Linked DNA regions of Homo sapiens: regions 1 and 3 are each linked to region 2. The links are contacts of gene promoters, found by promoter capture Hi-C in blood cells and fetal thymus (Javierre and others, 2016). All regions are on one chromosome and are shown on one strand. The core of a region is centred on a gene start or on the middle of the fragment in contact, and the rest is flanking DNA. Distances in the headings are between cores, read along the strand shown. Region 1 overlaps WRAP73 (WD repeat containing, antisense to TP73). Region 2 holds the start of CAMTA1-DT (CAMTA1 divergent transcript). Region 3 holds the start of MTOR (mechanistic target of rapamycin kinase).

Region 1 (3,357 bases), core at 201-2,700, 3.1 Mb before region 2:
AAACTGGACAAAAGATCAGACAATAATACTTAGTGGCTTATAATGCTCTGACCTAAAATATACACACCACTATATACGCTCCCCGGCTCCCTCCAACCCCGCCAATCTACCAGCCACTCGGGAGCCACCTCAGTCATCAGACCCAGGGCAGCAGACAGTGCCTGTGTTCACGACACCCTTATCTGACTCAGTAGCAGCCCAAAGCACGGGCGGTGGGGCTCGCAATCTGGATACGCCAAAGAGAAGCCACAAAGTGCTTCCTTTAAATGACGAGCTGAAAGTTCTTGACGCAACAAGGAAAGAAAAAATCCTATGCTGAGGTTGTTGCTCAGATCTTCAGTAAGACCAAATCTTCTATCCATGCAATTATAAACAGTATATTGTTATCCTTGTTCTATACTATGATTGTTGCTAATCTCTTACTGTATCTAATTTATAAATTAAATGTATCACAGGTATGCTGTATAGGAAAAAACACAGGAAATACAGGGTTTGGTACAATCTGAATCCCCTGGTGGTCTTAGAATGCATCCCCTGAGGATAAGGGGAGACTAGCATACTCCAAACACACCCCCTCTCGCACTCCCCAGCTGTTTCGAGAGCAGAGGACAGGATCACATGGCCAGTAAGGTGTCTTGGGGCTGACACTTACATGGAATTCCGTGGTGTTGAGAATGTGGCGCCCGTCCGGGCTCCAGCACGAGGCCACCAGCCCGGCTGAGCCCTCGTCTATTTTGCAGTGCCATTCGGGCTGCTCTAAAGACCAGACCTGGATTGAGAGAAGAAAGAAACACACAAGTGCAAACTCATCAGCACCGAGAGACAGCGAGGACAGCTCGCTTAAACGCAGCGGAGACCCGACCGCACAGGGTGTCTTCAAACTCATCAGCAGTCTATAGCGAGGCCTCGCCGAGAGACAACTCCCTTAAAACCAGCAGAGACCCGATCACACAGGGTGTCTTTTAGAACCTTTCATGATGAAGGGCTGGTGCTGGATTCCAGTGTAAAAGTAAGCCACGCTTCTTGGTGATTTCATTTCGTTGTTGTTTTAAAACTGTTTATTCACATTGTCATTCCTAAGACCTCATTTAGTTAAGCTTTGGACACAGAAGAAAACACGACTTCTTAGGACTTCCTGAAACACACCACATCCGCGTGGCTAGATTGCTGTCAACACCTCCGTTTCTCAACTATATTGCTTAGAAATTAAGACTACGTTGGAGTTTCCTTAGTTTAAATGTTCTTAAACTTTAGAGAACGTTATAATTTCAAAAGAAAACTGGCTTTGAGCTGCACGGACTTTTTTTTCAAACTAGAAAGGCACAGAACAAAACCCCTCCTTCCCAGGGGCCCTCAGAAGGTGTCCAGATTCTAAGCGACACGGCAGCACACACCTGCACCAGCCCTCGCTTGTACATGGCGCACAGGATGAAGAGCGAGTCTGCCGACCACTCGATGTGCTGGATCTGGTCTAGGCACGTGTACAGCTGAAGGATCTGAAGGGTGTTCACATCCCGGACCACTAACCGGTACTGGACACAGGAAGCCTAAAAAATATGAGAAAGCAAGCACCTGACATTCTCCACTCCAAAAGAGGGGGGCCTTCGGAATGCTACTGCCCTGGCCTTCAGTGACTGTGGCCTTCTCTCCTGCCAGAGGTTTCATGTCTAGATCACCAGTGACATCCCCAGCCCCTAAAGATCAGTTCAGTTCATACAAGGGTAATGTTGAAATATACAAGCCAGGTTTTAATATTGCTATACTCTATTGTAAAGTATAAAAGTATGTTTTAACTCGCTACTTAAAGCTTTAAGACATTTTTAAGTCCCTTCTTATCTGTATGTTAAAAACTAAACTTAAATGGGAAGTAGCATTGGGAGAAAGCTCTTCTGTGAACTAATAACCAAAATCCTCTGCTAGTTTTATAAACACTTTTGGACAATTTCCTCAAATTTATAAAGGGTAAGAATTGAGGCTTCACAGATGACAACGAAAATGGCAAGGAATGCATCAATCTTCTTATGCAGTGCCGAACTCAGAGCCAAAACAACAGAAGATCAAAAGACAGGCTTTCACTTCTGCACACATAAAGATGCTTCGCAAATGCTCATTTATCTCCATTAACCTATTCCTAACACGAAACGGGAAATGTTTAAGTGTTAGTACTATTTTCTTAAAGATAGTTTCTTCTTGTCCATATTTGTTCATTATGTCCCTATCCAAGCAAACAATTTCAAGTAAAAATAACGCCTGAGTACTCACCTGCTGAATGTATATTTTACTACAGTTTCAAGATCAAGAACTGATGTTTAAATATTAACTGCTTCGTTAGTTTTACTTATCAAGGTCAAAGTAGTTTGTGTTTTATGAACCGATATCAAAAAAGAAAGCCACGTTAGTTTTCCGTGGGAGAAAAGAGAGACAGGCGGGTGACGGCAGATTGGAACAAGGAGCTACCACAGCACTTACTTTCTCACACTGTAGCTTTGAAAACTGTGATCAGTTACAGTGAATTCCTTATGAAATGGAATATTTTTACCAACACCTTGAGGAACCACATAAACTCTACTGCAAGATATGAAAACTAGAAACATGGACCTGCTCTCCCCAGTCCTCAGGGCTTTCAAGAAGATGATTCCAGTAACAGATCATTACCAAGTGTTTCAGGGTATTTTGACCAGAGTGTACAAGCTGGAAAAAAACACCCAAGTTAAGCAAGCAGATGTAATCTTTCTCCTTATAATTCACTGAAATTTTCATAAATGGTAAAAACAAAAAACAAACCTCTCATTTAATTGAGGAGGGGGGCACATTGAAAATATACCAAGGCTGAGATGCCATTTAAACTAATGAGGTTTTCTGTTTTGTAGCTGATGCTATTTTATGTGATTTGGAATAAAACCTCCCTGAAGAGGTAAAAAACGTAATTTGAGAGTTAAACTCTCAAAAGCTAGACAGAGCACAGGAATGTCAGGAGTGGCAAAACCTGAAAAAGCATCATGATACATCAGTCAGTTAGTACAGGTGGTGGATAAGGAAAACGAAGCCCACTTTTTACGAGGCATGTTTCTTCTTAGTGGCTTTCCAATGCCAATTGTCCCCCTCTTCTGAGGACATACATACTAGGCATCCGGGTTATCCCTCTCTTCTGAGGATATACACTACTAGGCATCCAGGTACATACACTATATGTTTTGAAGCTTAAAGTTATAGCTCTGTGATTTAAGCACCCTTCTGCCACCCATGGAACGAAGACCTCAAATCCCAGCCATGAGGACAACTACTTCCTTACCTGGGGATAGAATACTAGTATTTAAATCATTTATTCGGCATGTGGTAGAGGAGAAGAGAATTAGA
Region 2 (3,636 bases), core at 543-3,042:
CACCTAATTTTTATATTTTTAGTGGAGACGGGGTTTTGTCATGCTGGCCAGGCTGGTCTCGAACTCCTGGCTTCAAGTGATCTGCCCACCTTGGCCTCCCAAAGTGCTAGGATTGACAGGCGTGAACCACTGCACCCGGCCTGTATCGGTCTTTTTTAAAATGCAGTTTTTTTAGCCTATCATCTCACCTCATAAATGAACACCATAATTTTGGGTATTGCCCCCTCTATCTAGCAATGGGTGATTTTCTGTTTCTGATGTCTACAACTACCATAATGTTCCACTGTGTAGATGTAACACAATTTACTAAATACCCAATATTAGCACATGTAGGATGCTCCCAATTTTTTGTTGTAGTTAAGTACAGTGATCCTGTGAAGAATACCTTCACACATACAGCTTTTCTGGCATTTAGTGTTATTTCCTTAGAACAGATTCCCAGAAGTAAGATCACTGGGTCAAAAGATGCAGACATTTTTATGGCTTTTAATACATACTGTAAAATTGCTTTTCGAAAGGAATATACTAATTTACAATGCCACCAGCACTTCTTTTAAGAATCCGTTTCTCCACACAAATCGTCAACATAGGTGCTATTAAGAATGCTAATCGATAAAATATTGTCCCGCCGTTGTTAAAATTTTGCAATTTTTGAGGCTCATAAAATTAAAGTTTCTTGAAGAATGAGTGTGTAACACAAAACATTCTTTTGGGACATCTTTATTTCTGGAAAACCTAAGACATTCTTACTTGTGAAGACCAGAAAAAGAACACATGTTGTTAGGATTGGCACAGAATTCAGTGTGACAGTCAATCTTAATGCCAGAACACTTGAACGAGGATTTTTCACTTATTTTGCTAGTTGTCACCAACAGTAGCAAAAGGAAAAATAAAATGCGGAAGAATGAAATGTTCTTACTGCAAACCGTACAAGATCACATTGAGGGGCTGGAGCTCTTACATTCAACTTTTCTTTCCTTTTTCTTCTTTTTAAACAATTTGCGATTGCAGCCTCTCCTTTTGTTTCCGGTATTACCTGCCCAGGAGCAGAATTCCTTACTTTCTCCGGAGAGAGGCCGGTCCCTGGGAGCGCTGCCCAGCCACCCGCACGCCTAGCCGCCCCGAGAGCCGCACTCGGCGGACCCGGTTCCTAGGCTCGTTCCCGGGGCACCTGGCGGGCGCCCACCTCCCGGGGGGCACGTGCTCCCGTACGCAGCGCGAGGGCAGCGGGTGCCTGGCTATTTATTAGGAAAAGCCCCGCGCGGACTCTCCGGATTGAGGAGGGTGGGAAACTCGGCTGCCCAGCGCTCCACCCGGGCGGCCGGGGCTGGCGCTTCTCTGCTTTCGGCCGGCGGCCTCATCCTGGGACAGGCAACCATGAGTCATCCGCTCCGCGGGTCACATGGGCAACGTGACCAAAATAAAGTTTCGGTATTTTAAGCCGCCAGAAAAGGGGACAACGGAGCTCACCGGGGGCGGGCACAGGAGGCGGGCGCAGGCGGGCGGCGCCGGGGCCGTGGGGACGCGGCGCCGAGGGGGCGGGGCCTGGCGGGAGGCTCGCCCCTCCCCCACGGCCGGCAGCGACGCCCGGACTCCTAGGCAGTCGGACTCCAGGGCGCGGCACCCCTGCGGACCTCAGCCCCGAGGCCCCCCGCGTCCGGCTCCCCACCGGCAGCGGCGGCGGGCTGCGGGATCCCGGAGATCCCGGCGCGTCCCCCACAGCCACCGGGACCCCACGCGCCAGCAGCGGCTTCCCCGGGAACGTCCTTCAGCCCCGGGAGCACGCGGGAAAAGCCCCAGCGTGCCAATGAGGGAGCGCCTTCCTCATGACGGTCACGCTCGGGGGCGGGGCTTCCCTTCGCCGCTCCCGAGTTCCGGGAACCCCCTTTGATTGGTCTGGACGGCCTGGGAAACACTGTAGTGACGCCCAATCAAAACGCCACGTCTCGGCCTCGAGGAAATATTCCGTGTCGGGCCCGTCCTGATTGGACAGTTCTTTCGGGTTCTGGCCACTAGGAAGCTTTGTTTAGGTCCGGAAGGCGGGCTTTCCTGGGAGTGGGTGGGGAGGGGGCGTTGATTCTTGACCAATCCTTTCAGTCCGTTGGGTGGTGACCAGCCAATGGGCCGGATGGATAGGACGCTCCTCCCGGAGAGTAGTGAGACCCCTGGTGCGGGGCGATTGGCGGCGGGAGCGATGAGTGGCAGCCGCACGGCCCAACGGGAGCTGTGCGTGGGCCGCGGGGCGGGGCCAGGGCGGGTGCGCGGCGGCGGCGGGGTGGCTGGGCCGGCGGCGGCGGCGGTACGAGGCGCGCGCTCGGGGTCCCGGTCGCGAGGAGGAGGAGGATGTGGCGCGCGGAGGGGAAATGGCTGCCGAAAACAAGCCGGAAGGTAAGAGCCGGAGCGCGAGGGGCTGGGGGGCGGCGCGGCGGGCGGCGGGACCCGGCCCCGCCGGACATCCCGGGCATCGGCGGCGCCGGGCGGGAGCGCGGGGGCGCGGCGGGCGGGCGGGCGGGCGACCCGGCCGGGGAGGGGGCCGGCGGGGTGGGGGGGCGGAGCGCGGCCGAGTCCTGAGGTGACTCGCGGGGCCGGCGGAGCGCGGCGCCCCACACCCCACCCCCGGGGGCGGGCTGGGGCCGGAGGGGGCGGGGGGCTCGCGGGGCGGGGACCGGGCCCAGCGAGGAGGAGGAGCCGGCGGAGGGCCGGCGCCTCCCCCACCCGGACCGGGCATCCCCGCCGCTCCCGAGCCCGCTGCGCGGCCCCCGCACCCCCGGCGCTGGGTCCACGGTGGGGGCCGCGGGGCGGAAAGTTTATCCGCCTCGGGTCCTCCTGGCCCCGCGCCCCACTGCTCCGGGCCGGTCCCCGTCGGGCGGCAGCGGCCGGCGCTCAGCCCTCGCCGGCCCCCTGCTCTCCGGCGGGCAGGGCCAGATGTACTCTCTCCGGCACCCTCTTCAGCCCCGTGGACACCTCCCTGAGCGGGCGGGGGGTCCCCGAGCTTCTCCCCGCCAGGGGGACCCCGTCCTGCCGAGCGTCCCTCGGCCGAAGGGCCTCGTGTGACCCCTCCCCCTTCGCTTCCCGGGAAGGGAAGGGGGCCTGCGCAGCATCCCCGCCCCTCGCAGTCGTTCACATCCTACTCTTGCCCTTGCACCCTCACAGCCAGGAGGGTGGGGTCTCCGTTTCTATGGCAAGTGAGGATCTCCACACTCCCTTGCCCTTTACCTTCCGTGACCCCGATCCTTCCTTGGCACAGGGGTCCGTCTGATCTGCTCATCTTCTTTGGATTCTTTTGGGGCCTCTGCACACTCTCCGTTGACCCTTTTTGCCAGGACAAGGGGACTCAGGCTGCCCATGTTCTTCTTTCCTCACCCAGTGGATAGTGGGGGCTTGTGCAGCTCTGAAGTCATTTCTAAATAGGAAAGCAGACACTTCTTCCAGATCATGCATACTCTTACACTTTGCTGGGTTAGGGCGAGCTCATTTCCTAAATACCCTTTGAGTTGCCCTCCTTTTCTTATGGAGACAACTGGACGTTCACCGTGCTCCTTTCGCCATTTGTGTGTCTACACTGACTTGTTCTCTCTTCTCGGAGTTCCTTGTCTGGGTGAGAGTGGGCGCCCCAATAAGATGTAGGGCAGGGCT
Region 3 (3,383 bases), core at 495-2,994, 4.5 Mb after region 2:
TGAGACAGAGTCTCGCTCTGTCACCCAGGCTGGAGTGCAGTGGCATGATCTCGGCTCACTGCAACATCCACCTCCCGGGTTCAAATGATTCTCCTGCCTCAGCTTCCCGAGTAGCTGGGACTACAGATGTGCAGCACCACGCCTGGCTAATTTTTGTGTGTTTTTAGTAGAGATGGGGTTTTATTATGTTGGCCAGGCTGGTCTCAAATTCCTGACCTCAGGTGATCTGCCCGCCTTGGCCTCCCAAAGTGCTGGGATTACAGGTGTGAGCCACCATGCCCGGCCTGGACTAGTCACATTTCAAGTGCTCCACAGCCACATGTGGCTGGTGGTTCTTGTACTGAACAACGCAGTTCTACAGGGGACTAGCTCTTCAAATGTAAGCTAAAAGAAAGTAATTAGTTCCTGGCCGGGTTTGGGAGGCCGAGGCGGGCGGATCACGAGGTCAGGAAATCGAGACCATCCTGGCCAACACGGTGAAATCCCGCCTCTACTAAAAATACAAAAAAAAAAAAAAATTAGCCGTATGGTGGCGGGCGCCTGTAGTCCCAGCTACTCGGGAGGCTGAGGCAGGAGAATGGCGGGAACCCGGGAGGCGGAGCTTGCAGTGAGCAGAGATCGAGCCACTGCACTCCAGCCTGGGCGACAGAGCGAAACTCCGTCTCAAAACAAAACAAAAAACACCAATTAGTTCCTGAGCTCATTCCCTCATTCCTCAATTATGCCCACACTGCCATGGGTGTAACATACACCTATCCCAAGTATGTTCAGCTTATGCTACAAAACCAATTTCTCAAAATTCTTATTTTTGAAAGAATTTGTAAGGCACAGAGGAAAAACCTGGGAATAATTGGTTTTGTAAAGCTTTCAAATACTCCACTGCCAAGAAGAAGACTGCAGAAAGAAATGTCATCCTTTAGGGGAGAAGAAACTTAAGAATCCCTGCTAAGAAAACTACTCCAGTTTGTGTGTATGTGTGTGCGTCCGAAAGGGGGGAAGGTGGCTGGCAAGGGATTTCTATTCTCAGGAAAGAACCAGTGTATCTTTATATGATCTGAGGCCCACAGGCCATCTGCTCCAGACTGAATTCAATTAAACTTAGGATATCTGAAGTCAAATATCCTAATGGTGTTGATAGGGCTTAAGGAAGTTAAGATTGGATGGGGGAAACAGGGATGGGGCTGGGGGAGAGGGAGAGAAGATGTACCCCAACGATGTAACCAAGCTCAGTTTCGGGGACTGGATCTCTGAGAGGTGTCCACAGTGGAGGACAAGGGGCTGACACGGACGCTAGTGTTCCCTGGGGCAGAGATACACAATTTTTATACGTGGCTCAAAAGAAAGGGTGGCTGTGACAGGCAAAAGACCCAAAGGGCAATACCAGAGCTGATGGGCCGGCCTTCGGGCGGACGTACCGCGGGCCGAAGGGTCCAGGGGTCTCTTGGGGGTCCCGGGGAGGTGGGCGTTGCCTCGAGGGGTGGGAGTCAAGGCCTCAGACGGTGCCCAGGTCGTGGGGCCGGCAATGTGGGGACCCCACGTCCCAGACGGGCGGCTTCCCCTGGCCCCCCCACGGGCAGGCTGGCCGTGGGTCTGGACATTACGCCGCCCTAGAGGGGTCGTGCCAGGCCCTAGACTCACCGCGCGGCTTCGGCCAAGGCCTCAGCTGCCGCCGCCAGCACCGGTACCGCCGCTTCAGGCCCCCTGCCCCACCGCCCGCCTTCCCCGCTGTCCTCTAAGCCGGGAGCGAGGGAAGGAGGGTTCCCAGCCCTGAGGACCAATCGACAGGTATAGGGAGAAGATGGACTGAAAAACAGGCCAATAGTAATGAAGAAGAGAAGCTTCAGGACCCGGCTTCTCCAGGGGGCGGGGACTGTTCAAATAGACAAACCACGCGGCCAGTGGCAGGTGAAAACAGGCTTGGGTCCACTCGGGAGAACCAATCGGTCGTGAGTTCACCTCAGTCACTTCCACTCACACATCCGGTACGGCGCTGCTAGGATTCCCTTCTGCATCCGGGCTGTGAACTCAAGGAGTCCGGTGTCTGGGTATCTCCGGATCGCAGCGAGAGCGGCTAGCAGAGGTTCGCGACCCCTCCCGGTGTAATTCTGAGAGGAGAATGTGAGCGATGCCGGTGCCCAGGAATTACTGCATCAAAAGACGTTTCGGGCTAGCGCTCTTTATGGATCCTGTGATATCTCTTTTGTTACAATTAATAAGCATTTGAAAATGTTTTTAATTAGATTCTCTAACTTTCCCAAAATTATCCAACTCAGGATCACTCCAGAGAAACCATAGCCAAGTTTTAACCAAAAGAGCTAGTCATAAATAAAAATTTTCAAAGCAACATTATTTTTTAAAAATCCTTTCAAAAAATCAATAGCTGGCCCGGCGCGGTGGCTCACGCCCATAATTCCAGCACTTTGGGAGACCGAGGCAGGCGGATCACCGTAGGTCAGGAGTCGAGACCAGCCTGGTCAACATGGTGAAATTCCCCCACCCGCACCCCCCGTCTCTACTGAAAATACAAAAATTAGCTGGGCATGGTGGCTCACGCCTGTAATCCCAGATACTCGGGAGGCTGAGGCACGAGTATCGCCTGAACCCGGGAGGTGAAGGTTGCATGCACCGAGATCGTGCCACTGCACTCTAGCCTGGGCAACAGAGCAAGCTCCGTCTCAATACATACATACACACACACACACACACACACACACACACACACACACACAACCAAAGAAAATAAATAACTGCTGGTCACGGTGGCCCACGCACTTTGGGAGGCCAAAGCAGGAGGATCGCTTGAGGCCAGGAGTTCCAGACCAGCCTGGGCAACATAGCGAGACGATGTCTCTACAGATTAAAAAAAAAAAAATCAACAGCAAAAGTGGATTTGACTACATTTTTTTTTAATCACAGTGCTATTTGTCATAGTAAACACTGAAAATTCCTAAATATTTCAAAGTAGGAGTCCAATAAAATATGATGCATTCGTTTGGGCGCGGTGGCTCACACCTGTAATCCCAGCACTTTGGGAGGCCGAGGCGGGCGGATCATGAGGTCAGGAGTTTGAGACCAGCTTGACCAACATAGTGAAACCCCGTCTTTACTAAAAATACAAAAAAAAAAAAAAAAAGGTAGGCGTGGTGGCAGGTGCCTGTAATGCCAGCTACTCAGGAGGCTGAGATAGGAAAATCCCTTGAAGCCAGCAGGCGGAGGTTGCAGTGAGCCGAGATCGCGCCACTGCGCTCCAGCTGGGGTGACAGTGCGAGACTCCATCTCAAAAAAAAAAAAAAAAAAAAAAAAAGATGCATTCATAATAAGAAAAATACATAGCCATTAATAATTATAATTTAGAGCCTAGCATGGTGGCTCATCCCTGGAAT

What was found. Contacts are between HindIII fragments. The CHiCAGO score rates a contact against its expected background, and 5 or more counts as called.
Region 1: a contact is called between a fragment that was not itself captured here and the fragment with the promoter of CAMTA1-DT in region 2, in 1 of 17 cell types (neutrophils). The highest score is 6.1, in neutrophils.
Region 3: the fragment with the promoter of MTOR here is called in contact with the fragment with the promoter of CAMTA1-DT in region 2 in 3 of 17 cell types (monocytes, total B cells and total CD8 T cells); the score reaches 11.1 in monocytes.

Annotation. Positions count from the first base shown.
Region 1 is chr1:3,646,014-3,649,370 of GRCh38, forward strand. WRAP73 (WD repeat containing, antisense to TP73) reads right to left here. Exons shown (of 12, transcript NM_017818.4): 2 at 1,395-1,547; 3 at 653-769. Among named protein-coding and RNA genes, the nearest start is that of WRAP73, 2.4 kb to the right of the region's middle. The HindIII fragment of the contact is 710 bases long and covers 1,096-1,805 here.
Region 2 is chr1:6,783,188-6,786,823 of GRCh38, forward strand. It overlaps CAMTA1-DT (CAMTA1 divergent transcript), which reads right to left and starts at 1,793. Exons shown (of 3, transcript NR_149049.1): 1 at 1,471-1,793; 2 at 962-1,036; 3 at 705-858. CAMTA1 (calmodulin binding transcription activator 1) reads left to right here and starts at 2,267. Exons shown (of 23, transcript NM_015215.4): 1 at 2,267-2,388. The coding sequence starts at 2,344. RefSeq lists enhancers at 633-1,309, 1,310-1,984 and silencers at 1,110-1,169, 1,250-1,309, 1,440-1,849, 2,190-2,349, 2,560-2,829 and 1 more. The HindIII fragment of the contact is 4,377 bases long and covers 1-2,018 here.
Region 3 is chr1:11,260,807-11,264,189 of GRCh38, forward strand. MTOR (mechanistic target of rapamycin kinase) reads right to left here and starts at 1,745. Exons shown (of 58, transcript NM_004958.4): 1 at 1,639-1,745. RefSeq lists a silencer at 1,463-1,512 and an enhancer at 1,933-2,092. The HindIII fragment of the contact is 974 bases long and covers 863-1,836 here.